Linked DNA regions of Homo sapiens: regions 1, 2, 3, 5, 6 and 7 are each linked to region 4. Evidence: promoter capture Hi-C in 16 types of primary human blood cells and fetal thymus (Javierre and others, 2016). All regions are on one chromosome and are shown on one strand. The core of a region is centred on a gene start or on the middle of the fragment in contact, and the rest is flanking DNA. Distances in the headings are between cores, read along the strand shown.

The links. The method cuts DNA at HindIII sites, captures the fragments that hold promoters and counts their contacts. A CHiCAGO score of 5 or more calls a contact.
Region 1: the fragment with the promoter of C1orf74 here is called in contact with the fragment with the promoter of RCOR3 in region 4 in 4 of 17 cell types (erythroblasts, total B cells, total CD4 T cells and 1 more); the score reaches 5.7 in erythroblasts.
Region 2: the fragment with the promoter of PACC1 here is called in contact with the fragment with the promoter of RCOR3 in region 4 in 1 of 17 cell types (fetal thymus); the score reaches 6.4 in fetal thymus.
Region 3: the fragment with the promoter of SERTAD4 here is called in contact with the fragment with the promoter of RCOR3 in region 4 in 2 of 17 cell types (endothelial precursors and M1 macrophages); the score reaches 6.1 in endothelial precursors.
Region 5: a contact is called between a fragment that was not itself captured here and the fragment with the promoter of RCOR3 in region 4, in 1 of 17 cell types (fetal thymus). The highest score is 5.7, in fetal thymus.
Region 6: a contact is called between the fragment with the promoter of NSL1 here and the fragment with the promoter of RCOR3 in region 4, in 1 of 17 cell types (total B cells). The highest score is 5.1, in total B cells.
Region 7: the fragment with the promoter of PPP2R5A here is called in contact with the fragment with the promoter of RCOR3 in region 4 in 2 of 17 cell types (naive CD8 T cells and fetal thymus); the score reaches 7.4 in naive CD8 T cells.

Annotation. Positions count from the first base shown.
Region 1 is chr1:209,783,160-209,786,004 of GRCh38, forward strand. C1orf74 (chromosome 1 open reading frame 74) reads right to left here and starts at 1,400. Exons shown (of 2, transcript NM_152485.4): 1 at 1,219-1,400; 2 at 1-550. The coding sequence starts at 475. IRF6 (interferon regulatory factor 6) reads right to left here. Exons shown (of 9, transcript NM_006147.4): 9 at 2,458-2,845. RefSeq lists enhancers at 1,105-1,722, 1,279-1,538, 1,723-2,338. The HindIII fragment of the contact is 4,418 bases long and covers 1-2,845 here.
Region 2 is chr1:212,413,630-212,416,389 of GRCh38, forward strand. PACC1 (proton activated chloride channel 1) reads right to left here and starts at 1,257. Exons shown (of 8, transcript NM_018252.3): 1 at 1,093-1,257. The coding sequence starts at 1,128. RefSeq lists a silencer at 909-968. The HindIII fragment of the contact is 5,506 bases long and covers 1-1,542 here.
Region 3 is chr1:210,231,305-210,234,108 of GRCh38, forward strand. It overlaps SERTAD4 (SERTA domain containing 4), which reads left to right and starts at 1,492. Exons shown (of 4, transcript NM_019605.5): 1 at 1,492-1,707. It overlaps SERTAD4-AS1 (SERTAD4 antisense RNA 1), which reads right to left and starts at 2,581. Exons shown (of 2, transcript NR_024337.2): 1 at 2,331-2,581; 2 at 152-467. RefSeq lists an enhancer at 1,370-1,903. The HindIII fragment of the contact is 4,360 bases long and covers 1-2,804 here.
Region 4 is chr1:211,257,952-211,260,665 of GRCh38, forward strand. It overlaps RCOR3 (REST corepressor 3), which reads left to right and starts at 1,415. Exons shown (of 12, transcript NM_001136223.3): 1 at 1,415-1,775; 2 at 2,157-2,213. The coding sequence starts at 1,610. LOC105372902 (a long non-coding RNA gene) reads right to left here and starts at 1,241. Exons shown (of 2, transcript XR_922552.3): 1 at 785-1,241; 2 at 1-624. RefSeq lists enhancers at 234-353, 628-1,129, 1,632-2,131 and silencers at 834-1,623, 1,694-1,993. The HindIII fragment of the contact is 7,419 bases long and covers 1-2,714 here.
Region 5 is chr1:209,766,757-209,769,456 of GRCh38, forward strand. All of the region lies in intron 8 of TRAF3IP3 (TRAF3 interacting protein 3), which reads left to right. Among named protein-coding and RNA genes, the nearest start is that of TRAF3IP3, 12 kb to the left of the region's middle. RefSeq lists enhancers at 2,640-2,689, 2,700. The HindIII fragment of the contact is 594 bases long and covers 1,058-1,651 here.
Region 6 is chr1:212,790,493-212,793,192 of GRCh38, forward strand. NSL1 (NSL1 component of MIS12 kinetochore complex) reads right to left here and starts at 1,285. Exons shown (of 6, transcript NM_015471.4): 1 at 1,038-1,285. The coding sequence starts at 1,271. It overlaps TATDN3 (TatD DNase domain containing 3), which reads left to right and starts at 1,402. Exons shown (of 10, transcript NM_001042552.3): 1 at 1,402-1,495. The coding sequence starts at 1,430. RefSeq lists enhancers at 1-736, 1,211-1,490. The HindIII fragment of the contact is 10,286 bases long and covers 661-2,700 here.
Region 7 is chr1:212,283,970-212,286,669 of GRCh38, forward strand. It overlaps PPP2R5A (protein phosphatase 2 regulatory subunit B'alpha), which reads left to right and starts at 1,441. Exons shown (of 13, transcript NM_006243.4): 1 at 1,441-2,322. The coding sequence starts at 2,142. LINC02608 (long intergenic non-protein coding RNA 2608) reads right to left here and starts at 1,052. Exons shown (of 4, transcript NR_125984.1): 1 at 1,010-1,052. RefSeq lists an enhancer at 954-1,033 and a silencer at 1,204-2,173. The HindIII fragment of the contact is 5,039 bases long and covers 1-2,700 here.

The DNA.
Region 1 (2,845 bases), core at 150-2,649, 1.5 Mb before region 4:
AGGAGACTGCTAGAGATAAGTCCCTCTGCAGCCCCTGCAAATGTGTGATGATCTCAGCCACGAGGGCCTTCAAGTCCTGAAGCTGGTCCAGGGAGCAGACAGAAGGGTGACGCTGGCAGCTGGAAACATCCACAAAGGCTATGGTACCAAGCAGCACCTGCTCCAAGTGCTGACATACATGCTCAGGACTGACAATCAGGCTGTTTTCTCCAATCTCAAGGATGTGAAGTCCAAAAGTCAGGAAGCCAAGCCCCTTCAGCTCCTCCAGATAGCTCTGGAGCTCTGATGCCCCTGCACAGTTGCAATCATAGAGCACAGCTGGCTTCAGTCCCCGGGCCACAGCCAGCACCTCTCCAGCTAAGTGAAGGCAGATGGCTTGGGGTGGACTCCGTCTCTTTCCCATGCCAAGGGTCTGCTGAGCAGCTGCCACCAGCAGCTGAGGGCTCGGTGATGACATGAGATCTAGAAGCAACATCAAGAATGGCCTCCTTAGCTAGCCCGAGTTCCCTTCCCTGGGTGGCATCTTTCAGCCAGACACTTGAGGAGGGGCCTAGAAACAAAGCAGGAGCAGGGAATTATTAACAGCCTTCCTGTTAAATCGCGGTATCTTCCAAAGGTTATTCTGTCCCTCCCTGCTTTGAAATGGCGACCCAGCCCAGACAAGATAGTTTCACCGATGCTGCTTGATTTTTCTGGTTGACTTGGTCTCCCTCAATCATAAATTCGTGTGTTTTTCTAGCCTTATAGCTAGATTTATATTCCCTCTGGCTTTTATTCTAAATTTCACCTGTTGCAAATTACGTTCTCTGGTTCAAACCGTAGGGAATTTGGGGCAGAGGCGGAGGCGGGGCAGTGTTTGGCAAAATTCACAGCATTTCGCCCAAAAGCCCTTCTGGGACAGAGCTCCAAGTTCCAAATGTATCCTTTCCACTGACAACTCCCCTACTCTTCCCGCCAGAGAATAGTTATAAGAATAGTAATTTGATTAATATACACCAGAATGTGGACTAACAACCATCTCACCCTGACACATAAAAATGAATGAATGAAATCCACTAGAACTGCAGAAGGGTAGTATTTTAACTTCTGCTGGCCCCGCCTTCCCTTTCTGTCCGACATCAAGGACCCTCGGAAGATGAGATTTCTCCGATCCACACACCCCACACCAGAGCATGTTATAGTGATTTGCTAAATGAGGCATAAGTCTGTCTCACATACGTTCTTTTTCCACGTCCGCTACAGGTTCGGGGGCTCAGAAACTTTTTGCGGCTTCCTGCCTGCTGCCAGAAAGGCAGCTAGTCCCCCACGCCCAGCCGCAAGTAACACTGGAAAACCCGCCTGCGCTGGGAAGACCCTCGCAGCCCGCTCTGCTCCAGTCCCGCAGGCACCTTCTTGCGCATGCGCACCCACTCGAGTGCCGCCCTCTTTCCCCCCATTCCGTGACGTCATCCAGCCGCTCGCGCGCCTCGCGTTAGAATCACTAGCTAGGCAGCCTTACTGCGCGCCGGAAGTTTGGGCCACCGTGCGGCCCGCCCTTTCCGGCCAGACTGAACGCGGCCCCATCTGTCGGCTTAGGAACTGGGAAGGGCGGAAGTAAACGAGAAAAGGCGGAACCTGGTGAAACTGGTTTCCCGCTGCTGCCCTCATTTTGCTTCGCCGAACGTCCTCCCTGTGTTATGACGTCTGGTGTCCCACTTGACTGGGAATCCAGAAACAGGGCACACAGCAGTTAATAAACACCTTTGATTTGTGTCTGTGGAAATACGTTTTGTCCAGACGAAACATACCTCAAGACAACATATTTTGCAGAATAGCCTCACCTGTGGGTGGTGCTGAAACGTTTTAATTTTTTTTAACTTGACTTCCCTAAATCCTACATTTGAGAGGCCTACAACAGCTCTCTAGGGAGGGTGTGAAGGTGTGAGTATTCACTTTGAACAAATATGTGCCAGTCATGCTGCTAGGCCCTGGAGGTACTGCAGTGAGCAAAACAGACAAAACCCCCACTTTCATGGGGCTTAAGTTCATGTCTACTGAATCCAGTTTGCTGATTTCAAATAAGAAATGAGAAGTGATGACACAGAGGCTTTCCAGTCAGGTCATTACAAAGAAAAAGTGTTATTTCACGTAAGAGTTAACACCTTTTTAACTACCAGCGATTTGACCCATGCCACGAAGGGAAAGGATTTCTTGAGAAAACCCCAATATCTAAGGAAATGGCCCCAATTTATTTATACTTGGAGCAGGACAGAGATTAAGGGAACAGTGGACACCTACACTGGAGTTGTCACTCCTGGATCTATCTTGGTGGTGCCTTCAGTCCATGAAAAGTGAATTGTACAGTAAAGATGGGGTCAGCATGGGAGGAGGACCAGCTTATAGGAGTTACCAGCCTAAGGCTGTCTGGTTCTTAGCTCAGAGGGAATCAGAAGCTGAGAGTAGAAAGTAGTCTTCTAATTTTAGAACGTTTTCCTTCCCCGCATTTATTTAATTTTCCCATGGTGGTTAACAGTAAATCCCTAAAAGACTGATTTAGTTCATTCATTTATTCCAGCAACAAATATTTGAGAACACACTGTGTCCCAGACACTGTTCTAAGGACTGGCAGCGAAGTCCAAGACAAACAGTCCCTACCTTCAGCAAGTTTGCAGTCAAGCAGGATGCGGATGCTGAGCATTACAAGGGAAATGATTATTCTGAGAGAGGAAGTATGGGGTGCTATGGGAACATACAACCAGGGACCTAATTTTATGGGAAAGGGACCAGCCCAGATCCAACACTTGCTCTCCCAGTTTACCTCCAGTAGGTTCTTTTTAACTTGAACTAATCTTGTTTGGTGGGGTAC
Region 2 (2,760 bases), core at 7-2,506, 1.2 Mb after region 4:
AGACCCTAGGTGGGTTAGGAGGTGGCAAAGGTAATGGGAGACATGGCTGCTGTGCTGTTCAGAGCTTTGGGAGCCTGCTGAGAAGTCTGGACTGTTCTGGGCAGACGAAGGGCAGCGTCAGGTCTGAGAAAAAAGGAATGCTCCGAGGTGAAGGCAGGGCCTCAAGGCAAATCTGGAGAGTATAAGAGACTAAAGGGAGCGATGGTAACACAGTATCGCACTCAGAGGTTACAGCAAACACAGGGACACAAACTGGAGGAGGACCGACCTGGAACTGCCTGACTTTGGCCAATGAGGCGGCACGATGGAGGGGCACAGAAGAGGACGGTTGCCAAAGATGACCAAGGTTTGGGGGCCGAGAAGTGGAGGCGGAGGAGGAGAGCAGTTTCACTAATACAGCTGGAGAAGTGAGGAGGCAGGGCTTGCTTGAAGGAAGCGCTGGACGCACAGCCTGCAGCGCAGGACAGAGAAGAGACAAAGAACTGGAAAGTGATAAAGTCGTGGGAGGAGGTGAGACTGGAGGGAGAGACGAAGAGGAGCGAGAACTAGCAGAGTCCATGAAGGCACTTTTTCAAAGTTAGGTGGTCACCAAAAAACAGGTAATCAATCCTGTCACCAGCCGCGGGGACAGCGAGGCCTTGGGCTTGGAGGGGGAGGATGCCGACGATGCCGACCGCGCATCAGATCTCGCCGGGAGGAGGGCGCGGGCGCTCCACTTGTTGCAAAGAACGCCGGGTTCCTCTGGGCCATTGGGCTGCCGCTCCGGCGGGGAGCGCGGAAGGCTGGGCCTCAGGTAGCTTCAATCATTCACCTGCTGGTTACGGGTCGCGGCGCCGGGGACCCTACTCCGGACCTCGGCCATGCAACCCGCAGCATACGGAGAACGCTGGGCGCCCGCTCCGCTGCCCCGCTTCCTTCCTGCCCCTGGGCCGCTCCTCTGCACCCCGGGAGCCCTCCCCTGACGCACCCGTCGGTCCCTCGGAAGAGCCCTCTGCCGCGCAGCCCCGACACCCCCCGCCCCGCATCCGCCCAGGCCCCCGGGACCCTGCTCCTCCGCCTCAAACTTCCCTTCCGTCTCTCACAACCTCGTACCTCCTGGTAGGATGTGGAGCGCTCCTGCCGGATCATGGCACTGACCAGAGCTTCGGCACACCTGAGACCGCCCCAGCCCGCGGCGCACGGACGCAGCACTGCGGCCGCTGCACCTGGACCTACCGGCTCCGCGAGGCGAAACCGGTCCGGAGGGGCGTCCCAGAGACCAGGCGTGGCGATACTCGGCGCATGCGCCTGGCCGCTGCCGCCCAGGAGTCGCGAAAGTGTTGATGGGAAATGTAGTTCTGGGCGGGGGCGCCCCTCACACCAGCTCTCACCCCTGTGGCGGAGGCCTGCATGTGACCCTGGGCCAGCTAAGCTGGTCCTTAGACGCGTGCCTCTGCGTCTCTCACTTCCTCTCTTTGTTGGAGGGGGAGGGACGGAGAAGAGGAGTGGAAAGTGGAACAAAGTCAGATGAGTAGGAGCCCCTAATCTATAATTGCAAGAGGAAGCTTGGCCTGGCGGTTTAAAACGGTAATAAATGTCTGGAGAGCACTTTGTATGTTAGTTACAAAGCGCTCTCACTCACATTATGCCGTTGATTCTGCAAGGAACCCTGTAAGAAGGACATTTTTCTCCCTAATTTACAAATGAGGAAACTGAGGTACTTTGTTTCAGAAAGGATGCGGGTGGAGCGGTAATCAAATGAAGATTATTTCATCCAGGGGTAGACTGCGGAGCCCATGTTCTCTCCATTATTCCAGGGGCAGGAGTACCCCTAGGTTCTTGTCCTGGCTCTGACCCTCCCCTTTAGGTCTTGCAATGCTCTGAGCCCTCCTCTCCTCGCCTTAGAATGCAACTGCTAAACCCTGCCCTGCCTGACAAGGCCTATGAAAGCAGAAAGGAAGGATCGTGCAGAGAAAGCCTAAAGCCGCTGTTCAGCCACAGAAGAAGCCTCAAGCGCTAGATGTGGCGTCAAATCTGGTGTTGGCCCTGTGGCAGGGTGGACCTGAAGACCACATCTTCCTCTCCTCCCACTGCCTGAAACAGCTGTTGTGTGAGGGCCCTCGGCTCCTCAGTGGTGAAGCAGATAGAGGCTGCTTGTTGTGCCTTGGTGAATGCTGCTCTGTGTCCCTTGCAGCTGCAGCTTGGTAACCCCTCCACTCAGGCCACTGGGAGCCTCTTCTCTCCTCAGTGATAAGCAGAATAGTGCCAGCCACATCAAAGAACCCTGGACCTCCTGGAGCATTAGCAATGGGAGGTCCCCATCACCTCTCCTGACCACTCACCCCTATCCTAGGCCCTCTGCTCTTAAATCTGTTATATGGGACAATATATATAGTGCCTAACACATTGTAGGCACTCGACAAATGTTTGTTAAATTTATGAATGGAACACTGATTCCAGCCATTTCATTTAACAGTTGCTTACCAAAACAAATTAACAATAGCAGACCACTAATTAAATTCCTTACTGTGTTAATACAATGGTACTTGATAGAACAAGTTCACACCATCATAGAATATTAGAGCTGGAAGGAACCAGAGAATTCTATTCCAACCCTGTCATTCCTCTCTAGTCTTTGTTGGTGTGACCAAACTGGAAAATTATGGGCTCCCACATTTGAAGGAGATACTGGCTAATAAAATATAAAATATGGCTTAACAAATACAATGTGCTGGGCACTGGGATACAGAAATGGATAAGATACCCTTGGGTCCTGGCTTT
Region 3 (2,804 bases), core at 242-2,741, 1.0 Mb before region 4:
ATGTCTTTTGGAAAAAATGAAATAATGCTCTTGGTAGGCTGTTGGGTTCATCTGTTTTAAGCATAATTGCCATCTCTCAGCTTCCTAATACCCTTAAAACCTCTGAGAGTCTTTAATGTACAAAGTTCAACAAAAACACCTTCAAAACAAATTAGTTCTAATTATGTTTAATATTGGTTTGCTGCTTTATTGAATAATCTACATTTGCTTTTAAAAAAAGGAAATTCACTTAACTGCATGTCAGTCACCCAAGTTTTAAGTGTACAAATGAAATGGAAAACATTTATTACACAAATTTAATTACAATTCTAAGAAATAAACATGCAAATTAGATAGAGTTCAATTTGCAGATGCTAATCCTCATCCTTGATCTTGTTCCTTCCTCCCTTGATTTTCAGTCTGTGCGTCTTCTTGATTCCTAGGGAGCCAGGCAGCCAGAGGTCTGGTTTTTCACAGTCGGAGGATCACTGTTTTAAAGAAGTGTTATATTTAGCACATCTGGTATAGTGGCAGTAAACAAACATTATAGTCTTTGTAACACTTTTGTGCAGGTGCCTTCTCCCGATTTTATTAGGTCTATGCCTTCCAAGCCTCTGCCTTCATTACACCTGAAATGACCCATCTCGACTATGGAGGGGTCCCTAGACAGAAGTTATGAATTAATGATTTTAAAAAATAAACTCTGAGGCCACTATAGGAGAAAATTACTATTTGCAAAATATTCTGATTCCAAGGCTTAAATTACATTCTCTTGAGCAAGGACAATCTCTTGTATTACTTTTTATTTCCTGGAGGTTTTCCCTGGAGGCTCCCCACCCAGAAAGGGTTGCCAATTCAAGTTGCAGCAGGACCAAGGTTGCTTTTTTTTTTTTTTTTAATACGTACGCAGCTCAGGAGGGAAACGGGCGGGGGCGGGCGGCGAGGGAGAATAACTGTTTGGTCCTGCAAAGACATCTGTTTCTCATCTCCGTTTGCTGTGGCAAAGGAGAAGAAAGTCTTTTGCAAAGGGTGGGAAAGGCACAGATTTTTTTTTTAATCACACGCACACACAACAACAACAAAACTAAACCAAATTTAAAAAGACAAGATATCTCGGAAGGTTCCAGAGTGAATACATTATTCGGCTGGAGCCAAGCCCCCAGGGCTAGGGCGGGAGCCCGAGAGCGCGTGGGGTCTGGGCTGCGGGCTGGAGCTGGGCCCGCGTGTCCCCGGGCACCGGGAGGGGAGGGGAGGAAAAGGAGGAGGGAGGGCGGGAAGCAGGGAAGGAGGCAGGGGGCGGGCTGGGGTGGGGGTGCGGGAAAGGCGCCCCGTGTGCAGCCTGAGGAGCGGCGGCGGCGGCCTGAGCAGAGGGAGGGAGGGAGAGCGGGCGCGCTTGTCATGTTCCCTCTCTCACCCTGGGGGCATCCTGCAGAACCTCTCCTCGGAAATCCACGGGGAAATGGCAAACAGGATTGACGGGTTTCACACGCTCCTCGCTAGACAGAGCCGCTCATTACCATAACCGTCTGCAGCGACGGCGGCGCAGCGCCCCAGTCGCGGCGGCGGGACCTGCCGGGACCCTTGCCCGCCGCGCACCCGCAGTCACCGCCGAGCGGGCGGCCGGGCCGGGACCCGCGAGTGTGCACCGGCGGCCGGGCTGGCGCCGAGCCCAGAGCGGACCAGCAGCAGCTCAAGCGCTGCGGCCGCCGCCTCCCCGCTGACCCCGCGGTAAGAGCCGGGCTGGGCGCGGGCCGCGGGGGCGGGAGGGCCGGGCAGGGTGGAGGGCGAGGGCCCCCCGGGGCTCCTGCCCTCGCAGACGGGCACCCACGCGGCCTCCCGCGCGCCCTCTTGGCACCAGGGCTGTGCCGAGGTCACCGAGTGGACTCGCAGCGGCCGGAGCGGAGTCGGGGCGGCGTGGGGGCCAAGGCACAGCTGGGCGCGGAGGCGGCGCGGGCTTTTCCCTGGGCTAGCGTGCGCCGCGGCGCCTTCACCAGGGCGGGAACCGCCGCCTCCTCTAGGGCTGCTCGGGCTGCCACCCGCGCGCACCGAGACAACTCCAGGGGCGGGTGGGGTCAGAAGCTCTGGTGAGACCTCATGGTCCTCCGTGGCCGCTTAGTCCCTCATCGTAGGGGAAGGGGTTAAGTAGGAGGGGTGCCCCCAGGTCCGGATGCCGCGGCGCTTGGCAGGTGGGGAGAGAGGGATTGTGGATGTCAGGAGCGCGCGTTTGCAAGAAAAAGGAATTGATGCAGTAGCTGACACCTTCTGTCCCCCGCCACCTCCGCCCCCGCACCCTCCTCCCAGGCAGCAGAGCTGCGCTGCGGGCGGCGGCGGCTCCTCTGTCCTCAGCTCACCTCCTCGGCGGGCTGAGGCTGCTGCCCGCCTGGTCCACGCCTCCGCCTCTCGCTTCCCTTCCTCCCCTCCCGCCTCTTCGGCCCTAGCAACTTTCCGAGTGCCCAGCTGTGGTCGCAGAAGCAGGGAATAGGCGTCCTCGCCGCCAGGTCCCACGGGCGCAGGGCGCTCCCGCAACCGCGGGCTTCCAGCGGGTTTGGCCGGCAAGGGAGGGAGGGAAGGCCGGGCCGACATCTGCTGCGGGCTGGAGCGCGGGGGCCCGGGCCAGCCCCGCCAGAGCCCTGCCAGCCGCTGTGAGTCATTTCCTTGGAATCCTACCTTTGGTGTTTATTTCCCTTAGAAGGAAACTTGGTTTTTTTTTTAAAAAAAAAAAAGGATAAGACATAAAGAATAATAATAGCTCTTATTCTTCAGAAGAGGCACACGGCTGCGGCACCGTAGAAAGACAACTTGCCTTTGTTCCCGGACACTTGGGG
Region 4 (2,714 bases), core at 165-2,664:
CACACACAGGAGACTTTTCACTTCAGAAATATTTACTTCCCAGGGTTTTCTTGGCTCAATTCCTGAGTTAGATATATTATTTCTCTCAGTAAGGTTTGCTCTGGCCAGAGACGTTCATTTCTGGTTTGATCCACTCTGGATTGACCCATAATAGAATTATTACAAGACAGTATTTTCAAGTGTTTGGAGAGTATCTGCTGAACCCCAATACCGCTCAGCATACATCTGCATACTAGAGGCTCACAGTTAAATCCTCACTTATTTCTACTTATTCGTCAGTGGGGGGGAAGAAATCAGAAAAAGAGGAAAAGAAAATCATAAACAGCCCCCAATGCCAGGCAGCCTGGCACGCAGCAGATGCCCTCAAATCTGGTGAAGGAATAAACGCAGTTTCCTACTCCTTTCGCCGAATGCAATTCAGAAAAGCATTACAGAGCACAACTCCTTCCAGGCTGGAAACGCTGCCAGAAAGCAGCTCTCGCTTCACCTCTGCCGGGGGACTCCGCCCTCTCCCCCAGCGCTCCAAGCGGAGACCGCAGGTCAGCAAGAACTGAAAACGCGTCTACTGGGCCAGGTCTCATGTTTATCTTATTTCCCCCTCACTCCACAGCACTCACTCCCCAGCTATTAAAACAGAGAAGAAAAAAAAGGAAAGAAAGATGGTAAGAATAAGACAGTAGGGTTAGGATCGGGGAGAGGGGCTTCAGCAAAAAACAGTTGCATCGCTCAGCCCCGGAAACTCATCCCGTCATCCCCAGACTCTCTCTCGGGAACTGGGCCCTACTTCAGAGATCCAGAAACAAAAATTGTAGCGTCGAGATGGTTAGGGCCGAGTCTACTTCTTTCGCCGGTTGGGCCTCAGAGCCCCAAGGCCGCCCTGCTATACTGCGCGACTGCACCGCGGGCCAGAGCGCGCCCCTAGCTCGAGGCTGCCAGCGGACACCGGGAAACTGAGCGGCCTGCGGGTCCAGACATCTGAGGAACGCCGCGCTCAGGCCCGTGCCTGCAGCCCGGTCCGCAGAGGGGGGGGGCCGCTCCCCCCGGTCGCCCAGTCGGGTCGCGCCGGTCCTTTCTCAGGGTGACCGCGTTCCTTCCGCCCAGAGAGGGCAAAGAGTCCCGCTCCCTCGTGTGCATCTCCCGCCCGCGCTCCGGAGCGCCCCCTAGGAAGAAAGCCCGAGCGGCGGCCACGCCTCGGTGGCGATTTTATTAGCGCTTGGTTGGGGTGGCCCGGCTGCCTGCGAGCGGGGTTTCCCCGCCCCTCCCCCCTTCCCCTCCCCCCAGGCGGCCGGAACCTCCCTGCGGAGCGGAGTGATACCGGCGGCGGCGTAGAGCGCGGTGCGGCCGAGGGGCGCCCGGGACTGCGCGGGGCGGGCGGCGGCGGAGGGAGGAGGGGAGAGAGGCGGGGCCGGGGCGGGTTGTTGTGAGGCGACTGCGCTACTGCCGGAGCGGGGCGGTTATGGCGGCTCCATATTAACAGCCTCCTCCTCCTCCGCCGCCGCCGCCGTCTCCTCCTCCTCCTCCTTTCCCTCCCGCCCGCGCTCTAAGCCATCTCCGCCTTCACCCTGACGCCTGCCTCTTCCCCTCACCTTTCCCCCTCCCCTGTTCTACCATGCCCGGCATGATGGAGAAAGGGCCCGAGTTACTGGGGAAGAACCGATCGGCCAACGGCAGCGCCAAGAGCCCGGCAGGCGGCGGCGGCAGCGGCGCCTCGTCCACCAACGGCGGGCTGCACTACTCAGAGCCCGAGAGCGGCTGCAGCAGCGACGACGAGCACGGTGGTAGCCTCGAACTCCTCCCCGCCAGCCCGCCTGCCCCCCTCCCTCTTCCCCTCCCCCAGCCCCCTCCCCTCGCCGCTCTCCCGCCCTCCCTCCCCTCAGAGCCTGGGCGCTGCGGTAGCCTCGAACTCCCGGTGCAGTGCAGCAGCACCCCCGCGACCCCCCGTCCCTCCGCCCTCGACCAATCCTCCGCCTTTGCCCCCCCCCGCTCCCCGCCCCCAATCCGCTGCCATCTCCCGGAGTGCCCCGAGTTGATATCTTCCCATCCACCCGCCGCTTCTTTCCTCCATCTAGCGATTTTTATTTTTTAAGTGTCTCTTCCTTTTTCTTTCTTTTCTTCTTTTTTATTTTTTATATATATTTTTTGGCATTGCTTTGCAGATGTTGGGATGAGAGTCGGAGCCGAATACCAAGCTCGGATCCCTGAATTTGATCCAGGTAGATATATTTGCTTAAGCAAAATCTCATATCCCCTTTCCTGGGCTTGGTTTGGGGTGGACGGGCTAGGAGTCCGGGCATGGGGCCGGGAGGGGATGCGGGGTTGGGCTGGGCAGGCATCCGTGGCGGGGAGGCTGTCAGGCTTGGCCGGGCTGTGACACTGGGCGTGTGGGCAGATGTGTGCACTGCAAGGTTAACATGGTTCCCTTCGGAGGCCACTTGCCCGCTGGGGGCATCGCCTTCCTAGCCCTTGAGCCTGGGGCAGGGTCGGGGTGAGCAGAGGGAGACGGCCCTTGGCGGAGTCCAGGGTCCGAGGCCGCGGGCTGGAGGAGCAGGCGTGCGGACTGTATGGACGAACCGTGCAAATGTCAATTGCCACCTCGCTCGCCCCGGCGCCGAGGGCCGCGCTCTGTCGGGCGGGTGGCAGAGGCCAGGGCGGCTGTCACCGGCCGGGGAAGCCAAGGGCGAGCCCTGCCGACCTGTGCGCAGCCGGGATTGTCT
Region 5 (2,700 bases), core at 105-2,604, 1.5 Mb before region 4:
AGGAGGCTGAGACACAAGAATTGCTTGAACCCAGGAGGTGGAGGTTGCAGTGAGCTGAGATTGTGCCACTGCACTCCAGCCTGGGTGACGGAGCAAGATTCTGTCTCAAAAAATAAAAATAAAGGAAAGAAACCATTTTAGCTGAATCTTGAAGGATGAGTAGGAGCTAACCAGTAGAGAAGCAAGAGTGATGATGAGGGAAAAAAGCAGAAAGTAGAAGAGTGTTTAAGGTAAAGGAATTGGAATGATTACAGGCCTATGTATGGCAAAGAATTGGGTATAGCAGAGTATGGCTGAAATGAAGGTATGCCAGAGTAGTACCAAAGAAAGGATCTCAGACAGGTCTTTAGAATTATGGGTCTTAAACTTTTTCTGTTGAACAAGGTATCTCAAACTTGAATAATGCATGGACCCATTTTTAAAGGAAACCCATATATGTATATATATAAAATCAGAGATCCTTTAGAATGCATGCTACCCAGCTTGAGAAACACTGCTATAGGTAATAAGCTGAGTAAGAATGGAACTATGCTTTATTGAGGTATAAAGTCCTACACTTAGCAATGTCTGGCTCATCCTTAGAAGGTATGCAATTACTATCTGAGGAAATGACTTGTGAATGATCAGATCTGTGTCTTAAAAAGTTCTGTAATTTCCAACTGGATGCAGTGTCTCACACCTGTAATCCCAACACTTTGGGGGGCCAAGGCAGAAGGATCACTTGAGTGATCAAGACCAGCCTGGGCAACATAGTGAGACCTCATCTCTATTAAAAATAAAAAAATTAGCCATGCATGGTGGTACACACCTATAGTCACAGCTACTTGGGAGGCTGAGGCAGGAGGATCGCTTGAGCCCAGGAGGTCCAGGCTGCACCACTGTACTCCTGCATGGGGTAACAGAGCAAGACCCTGTCTTGAAAAAAAAAAAAGAGGGGGGAGGGTTCAAGGATTATCTAACTTGTAGCAATAAGAACCCTGGCTCCAAGCAGGGGTTGGGGGAGTTGAGACTCTTGTAATATCCCAGGTAAGACACAACCAGAGCTTGAATCAAAGCAAGCTTTGTGGGAATGAGGGGGGATATATTAAGAGACATTTCTGGGTTTGTCTCCAAGGAGGAGTTTCACCCCATGCTCCAGCCCAAGAGCAGAAGTTCCCTTGGTTGTGGTTTCCTCCCTCCCTTCTTCTCACCCCTCCCAATCCTCACCCTTCTCTTCTTTGTCCCTCCTCCCCACCAACCCCCTAGCTTCCAGTTTTAAAGAAAAACAGTCTCAGACTTTTTCAGTTAACAGCTATTGTTTCCCCTAAAATAAGGTAATTCAACTCTCTATCTCTTCCATGAAAGCCTCAACTCCAATAAAAGTATAGCCCCAAACTGTGGTATCTGGGAAAAATAATTGGAAGAAAGTGGCCAGAACTGGTTCAGACCTTTATTTTTGCCATTTGACCTTCATAAATTTGAATTTCCAACTTCACATGCTGAGAACTTACCACAAACTCCCTATTAGAATCCCAAGGATCAGCTCCCTCCGCTGGCTTCACCTCCGGATGTCTCTGGGCCTTTTGGATACCATAGGCTCTGGGGCACTATTGAGACTCCTGAGGAGGGTCCAACCTTCAGGGCAGAAACAGCTCTACTAGCAGAGAAAGCAAGCTTTCAATATTGTGCAATACAAAAACGAGAGCAGGGCAGCCTTGGGTTTGAAGATCTGCGTCCTGGAATTAAGATCTTGAGATGACAGCGCAGCGGGGATTGGCTGAAGCCCTAAGCAACCTCTACTAGAGCAGAGAGATGAGCTGTGGGCTGGTGCTTCTGTGGTGAGGTGGTGGTGTTTCTGGAGAGCAGATCAGAGGCAGGGGAAAACCACGCAGAAGCAGGAGCTGAAGACCTCAGACCGGCACCAGGTGTGTATGGCCTCCGCCTTGCTCCTCTCTTCACTGGGGTTTATATGCCCTCTGAGCCCTCGGCTCCCGGGGTCTAACTGCCTAGAATGTCAGCAGTAGGCCTGTAAAAAGTGCTTCTTCCCACATACTGTAACACTGGGCTTCAGTGTGGGGGACCCTGGGGCTCAGACCAGGAAACTACATGCCCGATTTGCAACAACTTGGCTGCGACTTTTATGACGTTTTGGGGAGTCCAGAAAAGCAGAGCTGTGGAAAGAGGTTTCATTCAAGCTCCAGACTTGGGTGGCCCTTCATCCCCACTGAAGTGGCTATGGTAAATTGTCTTCCGTTGCAACACGAATGGAAAAGTAATTTGGGGTTGGGCCAATACAAAAACAGTTGAAAGAGGCAAAATATTGGATTAAAGCCATACTATGGAATGGGGAGAGAGGAGGTACCCCAAAAGGGTAGGAGACTGGGAAAATTTTAAGAATATTGCCTTAGGCCTGCTATATTCCCAAAATACAGCAAGATAAACCTTAAATTTGGTAGGTTTGATTGCATTCTGCATAGAAAGAGTTTGGGCAAAGGCAAATGTGTGGAACCGAAGATGTGAACCAGAGGAGGTAGGTGTAGAGCCAGTTGATTTCAGGACCTGTGGATTGACAATGAACAGGCCACAGTGGAATGCAGCCGTTTTACCAGTTACTTCAAAGCTCAAACAGTAGAAGTCTTTGTCCACGTCTTCCATCGGTCCCAAAGCCCTCTGCTTATTGTAGATGCCAAATCCCTGACTCTCTGCTCTCCCTCACATGAG
Region 6 (2,700 bases), core at 35-2,534, 1.5 Mb after region 4:
GGGAACACAAGAAATAAAGGGATTGTGTGCTTCCTTATAACAGGCACCAATCTACTTATATTAGCGGAAAAAATTTAAAAGCTCATAATACCGCACATTTGTGAGTTATGAATGACCACAGTGCAAACAGTAAAAATAAAGGTTAATAGGCCGGGCGAGGTGGCTCACGCCTGTAATACCAGCACTTTGGGAGCCCAAGGCGGGCGGATCACGAGGTCAGGAGATCGAGACCATGCTGGCTAACACGGTGAAACCCTGTCTCTACTAAAAACACAAAAAAATTAGCCGGGCGTGGTGGCAGGCGCCTGGAGTCCCAGCTACTCAGGAGGCTGAGGCAGGAGAATGGCGTGAACCCAGGAGGCGGAGCTTGCAGTGAGCCGAGATCGCGCCACTGCACTCCAGCCTGGGCGACAGAGCGAGACTCTGTCTCAAAAAAAAAAAATAAAATAAAATAAATAAATAAATAAAACATGCAAAAGGAAAGATCAAATGCTGCTTGGGTGAATGGCTGACTTCCAGAATTACCCTTTCCAGGAGAATTCCTCATTGTCTGCGGCTGCATTGTCCAACAGGTGAGCCACTAGCCACTTTGTAGTTACTGAGCGCTTAAATGTAACTAGTTCGAAGATGTGCCGTAAATGCAGCACACCAGATTTGAAAAGCTTAGTACGAACAAAAGAATGTAAAATATCTCATTCATTTGATATTATTACATGTTAAAATACCTTGGATTTATTGGGTTAAACAAAATGTCTTATTTCCATTAACTTCACCTATTTCTTACTTTTAGTTTAAAACTACATAAAGATTAGCTTGCCTTGTATTTTCACTGGACAGCGCTGGTCTAAGTAATTAATAAGACCCAGCTGACATTAGCATCTATTTCTTTCTCCTCTAGCGTTTCTCGAACTGGTTCTACAGTAGCCTGGGGCACCGTTAATTCTGCCAAGGCCTGGCGTGGGATCTTTCTGAATCCTAAGATCCTGGGTGTTGGGTAAGAGGATGATGAGTAAAGAACTGGCTAACTGGTCCCGTACCCACTGCGCATCTCGCAGAGCGGGCTCCCGAATCTCCTCCGGCAGAGCGTCCCCGAGCTTTTGCACGAAGCGGCCGCACAGTTGTAGCATTTCGGTCACAGCCCGCTTCGAGGTGCAGCGCACCCGAAAGTCTTCTCGGGGAGTGGCGGAGACCAAGGCCTGGCTCTCTGTGCCAGCCGCGAGCTCCTTGTCCCATGGAGGGTCAAGGACCACCAACTCAGGAGACCCCGCCATTTTTCGTCGGAACTGTGGGCGGGGCACTCTGGGAGCGGAAAAGCGGGTTCACACTGGTGTAACCAGCATGCATCCGGCTGGAAACTCAGGACGCTGCAGCTGAAACGTTCCGGCTCCGGCTCTGCTGGCCGGTCTAAAGCGGCAGCCGCCGGGGCGCAATGCGAGCGGCTGGCGTAGGCTTGGTGGACTGTCACTGCCACCTCTCCGCCCCGGACTTTGACCGCGTATGTGAGGGCGATACGGGACCAGAGGGAGCAGGGAGGCCCCCGTCCTTTCCCCTCGTGTTATCTTTGCTCTCCTCCCTTGGGACGAAACCCCATATCCCCCGCCCAGACCCTTGTTTATGGCCATATGACCTTGCCCCTCATTTCCCTATTCCCTATTTAACCTCAGACATACCGATTTTTTTTTCCTGATTCAGTAGCGGTAAGCTATCTCCACAAGGCTTTTGTTTGCTCTTCTGAGTTCCTGGAATCGTTCCCTCACTCCCCTTGGCTGGCCTGTTTTTCCCCTCGGGGCTCTCACCTCCTGGCTGAGATGCCACTCTTTGTGGGAAGCGGTCCTCGAAACGCGTTCAAATCGGGGAGAGGTCGGGCGCGGGCTCACGCCCGTAATCCCAGCACTTTGGGAGGCCGAGGCGGGCGCTGCGCATCTCCTGTGTCCAGGAGATCGTGACCAGCCTGGGCAACATGGTGAAACCTCGTCCCTACAAAAAAAAAAAAAAAGCCGGTGATTGTGGCGTTTGCCTGTGGTCCCAGCTACTCGGGAGGCTGAGGTGGGAGAATCGCTGGAGCCCAGGAGGTGGAGGTTGCAGTGAGCTGACATCAAGCCACTGCACTCCAGCCTGGGTAACAGTGAGACCCTGTCTCAAAAAAAAAAAAAAAAAAAAATTCACAAATGGGGGAGAGAGGCAAACAAACAAACAAAAATACATGGCCGAGTGTGGTTGCTCACACTTGTAATCCTAGCACTATGAGAGGCCGAAGTGGGTGGATCGCTTGAGCCCAGGAGTTTGAGACCAGCCTGGGCAATGTGGTGAGACCCCGTCTCAATTAAAATAATAATACACACGTAAAATCAGTTACAAACTGTTTTACCCATTACGTGGGAAACTAGAGACTAATAATAGAGGATTAAGGGGGGTTTTATTTCAGGGGGAAATCCTCCCAGGAGCTGACACTTAAGGCTGAAAAGACAAGGAGCCACCCAAGCAAGGGGGTGAGTGTATGCTGGTTAGGGAAACAGATAGGTTGCAGGCCCCCAGACAAGCTAGAATTTGGCACATTTCAGTTGCCAAAAAGCTAAGTGGAGCCTGATGAGCTAGAAAGAGAAAGGCATGAAACAAAACTGGGGAGGTTTGCAGGGGATAGATGAGGTGGGTCAGTAAGGAATTTGGATTGCATTTGAAGCACAATGCAGATTCATTAAA
Region 7 (2,700 bases), core at 191-2,690, 1.0 Mb after region 4:
TGAAAGTAGATTTAACATGATCTGGAGCTTGACTATGTGAGAAAGCGAAAAGTGTCAGAAACGCTGCTGAGGTTTGAACCTCCTTGACTGGGAGGATTATGTACAATTTCACCGCCCAGCAAATCTGAAGGAGGAAATGTTTTGAGGATAGTATGTTTGGTTCTAGGTCTAGAATTCAACTTCCTGCCAAATTTGGAATCTTCTGTACATATGCATCAGGTGGCTTCGTTTAAATATACGACAATTACTTTTATTATGTTGAAAGGAAAAGGTCTGGAGCTCGAGGGAGGGGATTACAGATTTGGGTCCATTGGCGCAAAGGGAGGCTGACTGTTCAGATTAATAATTATTAACGGCCACCGTATGGAAAGCACTGCACGAAAAACTAAGATGACCAGTCCTCGTCCTTAAGAAATTCAAAATCTAGACGGAATCTCCAAGAAAGAGATTCCGGTAAGAGTACATGGCAAGCCTCCATATCCACACACCACTGACCAATGAATTTGTACTCTTCTCGTTGGAGTAGTTGAGGGCCTTTGGCTCAAGGAGGGGTGAAAATTAGCAGGATACTAAATTGGGAATGAGAAATCTCTTTTTAGAGGGCGTGGACTTGCAGAACTCTTTGAAGCAGCAGATGCTAGACTGCCCAAACCCCACGCGAGAGTAGCTCTCTGGAGTTGCGGAGTCCGAACCTCCCAAGAGCTACAAATTTATTCCGCAACTACCAATTTTGCGGTTTGGGGCCAGTAAGGCGCCAAGACCCGCCCAGGTGTCCAGACCTCGCAACGATTGGACGAGCTCACCTTCTCGCCTTCCCCGGGCCCCTCGCCCGTCAATCACACTGCTTGCTCGCCACCTGACCTCTGCTGCGCCCCCTTTCAGTGGTGTAACACCTGGCGCTCTTTCGCGCCCCAGCCCTCCGGCGCCCCACCAATCGCTTCAGTTCTTCATTGGCCAGCAGAGAGGTGAGGGAAGGGAAGGGGCGCTCTATTTTGCTCTCTGAACGCACCCTCTCAAGTTTCCCAGTCTTCTCGTAGACGGTCAGGAGAGCAATGACAGCCTGGAGCAGTCGCGCGTGAGCGCAAAAATGCCCGCTGGTGGAGGAGCGCTTCCCCTCCCTCCCAAGCGATTTGCCGCATTTGTTCTGACGCAGGGGCACCCCGCTCGCCGTCTTCACTTACGATTGGCTGTGGCCGAAGCCCGTCACACAGCCCGCCCCACTCCTCTGCCTCAAGAGGCCGCACCTCACGCCGTCGCTGCCGCTTAGCCGTGTGATTGGCTAAGAGGGCTGGCATGCTTTCCCGCCCCCTCCCCCGCCGCCGCACCAAGAGGCGGGCGGGACCCCGCGGAAGTTGTCAGTCAAACTCCTCCTTCCCACCCCTTGCGAGGCCCCTCCCCGGGCCGCGCGCCCTGGCGCGCGCACACGCGCACACACTCCCCAGTCGCCTGTACCAACCACCTTCTCAAGTTGTAGCGGTCGCTCGCCTGGGGTTCTCCGTGGGCGGCCGACGGGCGCGTGGGGGAGGGGGTTCGGGCCGCCCAGCGCGGCAAGGAGCGAGTGTGTGCACGCAGAGGGCCGGGGCTACGGGGCAGCGCCCCGGGCGATGAGGGGCCGGCGTTGACCGGGAAGAGCGGGCACCGCGGCAGTGGCTCCGAGGGGACCCGCGATGGCAGCGCCCTGAGAGGAGGCTCCAGGCAGGGCGGGCTGCGCTGGCAGCGGCCGCTGAGGTGCTGGCCGGCCGGCTGGCTGGCGACGGGGGCAGAAGCGACGAGAGGCGCGCTCGGCACCCGCACCCCCGTGCCCCCGCCTCAGTTGTCTAAACTTCGGGCTCTCTTCCACCCGCTCTGCGCGCCCAGAGTCAACAACTTCTTCACCCCCCTCCGCCCCCGCCCTTCCCTCCGTCAGCCCCGGGAGCTCGCCGCGCGCCGGGGACCAGGAACCTCCAGCGCTGAGATGTGGCCGTGAGGCGTTGGCGGGCGGCGAGGAGAAGCTCGGCGGCGTCCCGGGGCCGGAGGGCCGTGGGGCCGGGGCGCAGGGGCGCGAGCACCCCGCGCCTCTCCCCCGCCTCCTCCTGCCGTCTCCGCCGCTGCCCGTGCCTTGCAAGCAGCAGCCGGAGCTGCCAAGCGTCAGGGCCGCGGAGATGTCGTCGTCGTCGCCGCCGGCGGGGGCTGCCAGCGCCGCCATCTCGGCCTCGGAGAAAGTGGACGGCTTCACCCGGAAATCGGTCCGCAAGGCGCAGAGGCAGAAGCGCTCCCAGGGCTCGTCGCAGTTTCGCAGCCAGGGCAGCCAGGCAGAGCTGCACCCGCTGCCCCAGCTCAAAGGTAACCTCCGAGGGCGCAGCCCCAGCAGCGAGCGCAGGGGCTGGCAACGCTTGCCTCTGCGCCAGCAGAGCCATTTCCTGCTGGGTTTCTCCTGCTCAGTTGGGACTGGTAGTGTGTGAGCCGAGTTCCCCACAATGCCTTGGCGTCACCTCACGCCCTCCTCCTTATTCAAACAGGTTTTCTGTGAAGTCTTGGCTGTTTCCTTCTAATTCCCACCTGAACTCTTTCCATCCTAGGGGAGGCCAACACCCTTCCCCACCTGCGCGCTTGCTTAACCTGCACTTCCTATCTTGCGTCCCGTGAAGTAGAGTCCTTCACTCCTCTTCCAGGTTTGCCCTTTCCCGGTCTTGCTTTAACAACCGCACGAACCTTCCCCGA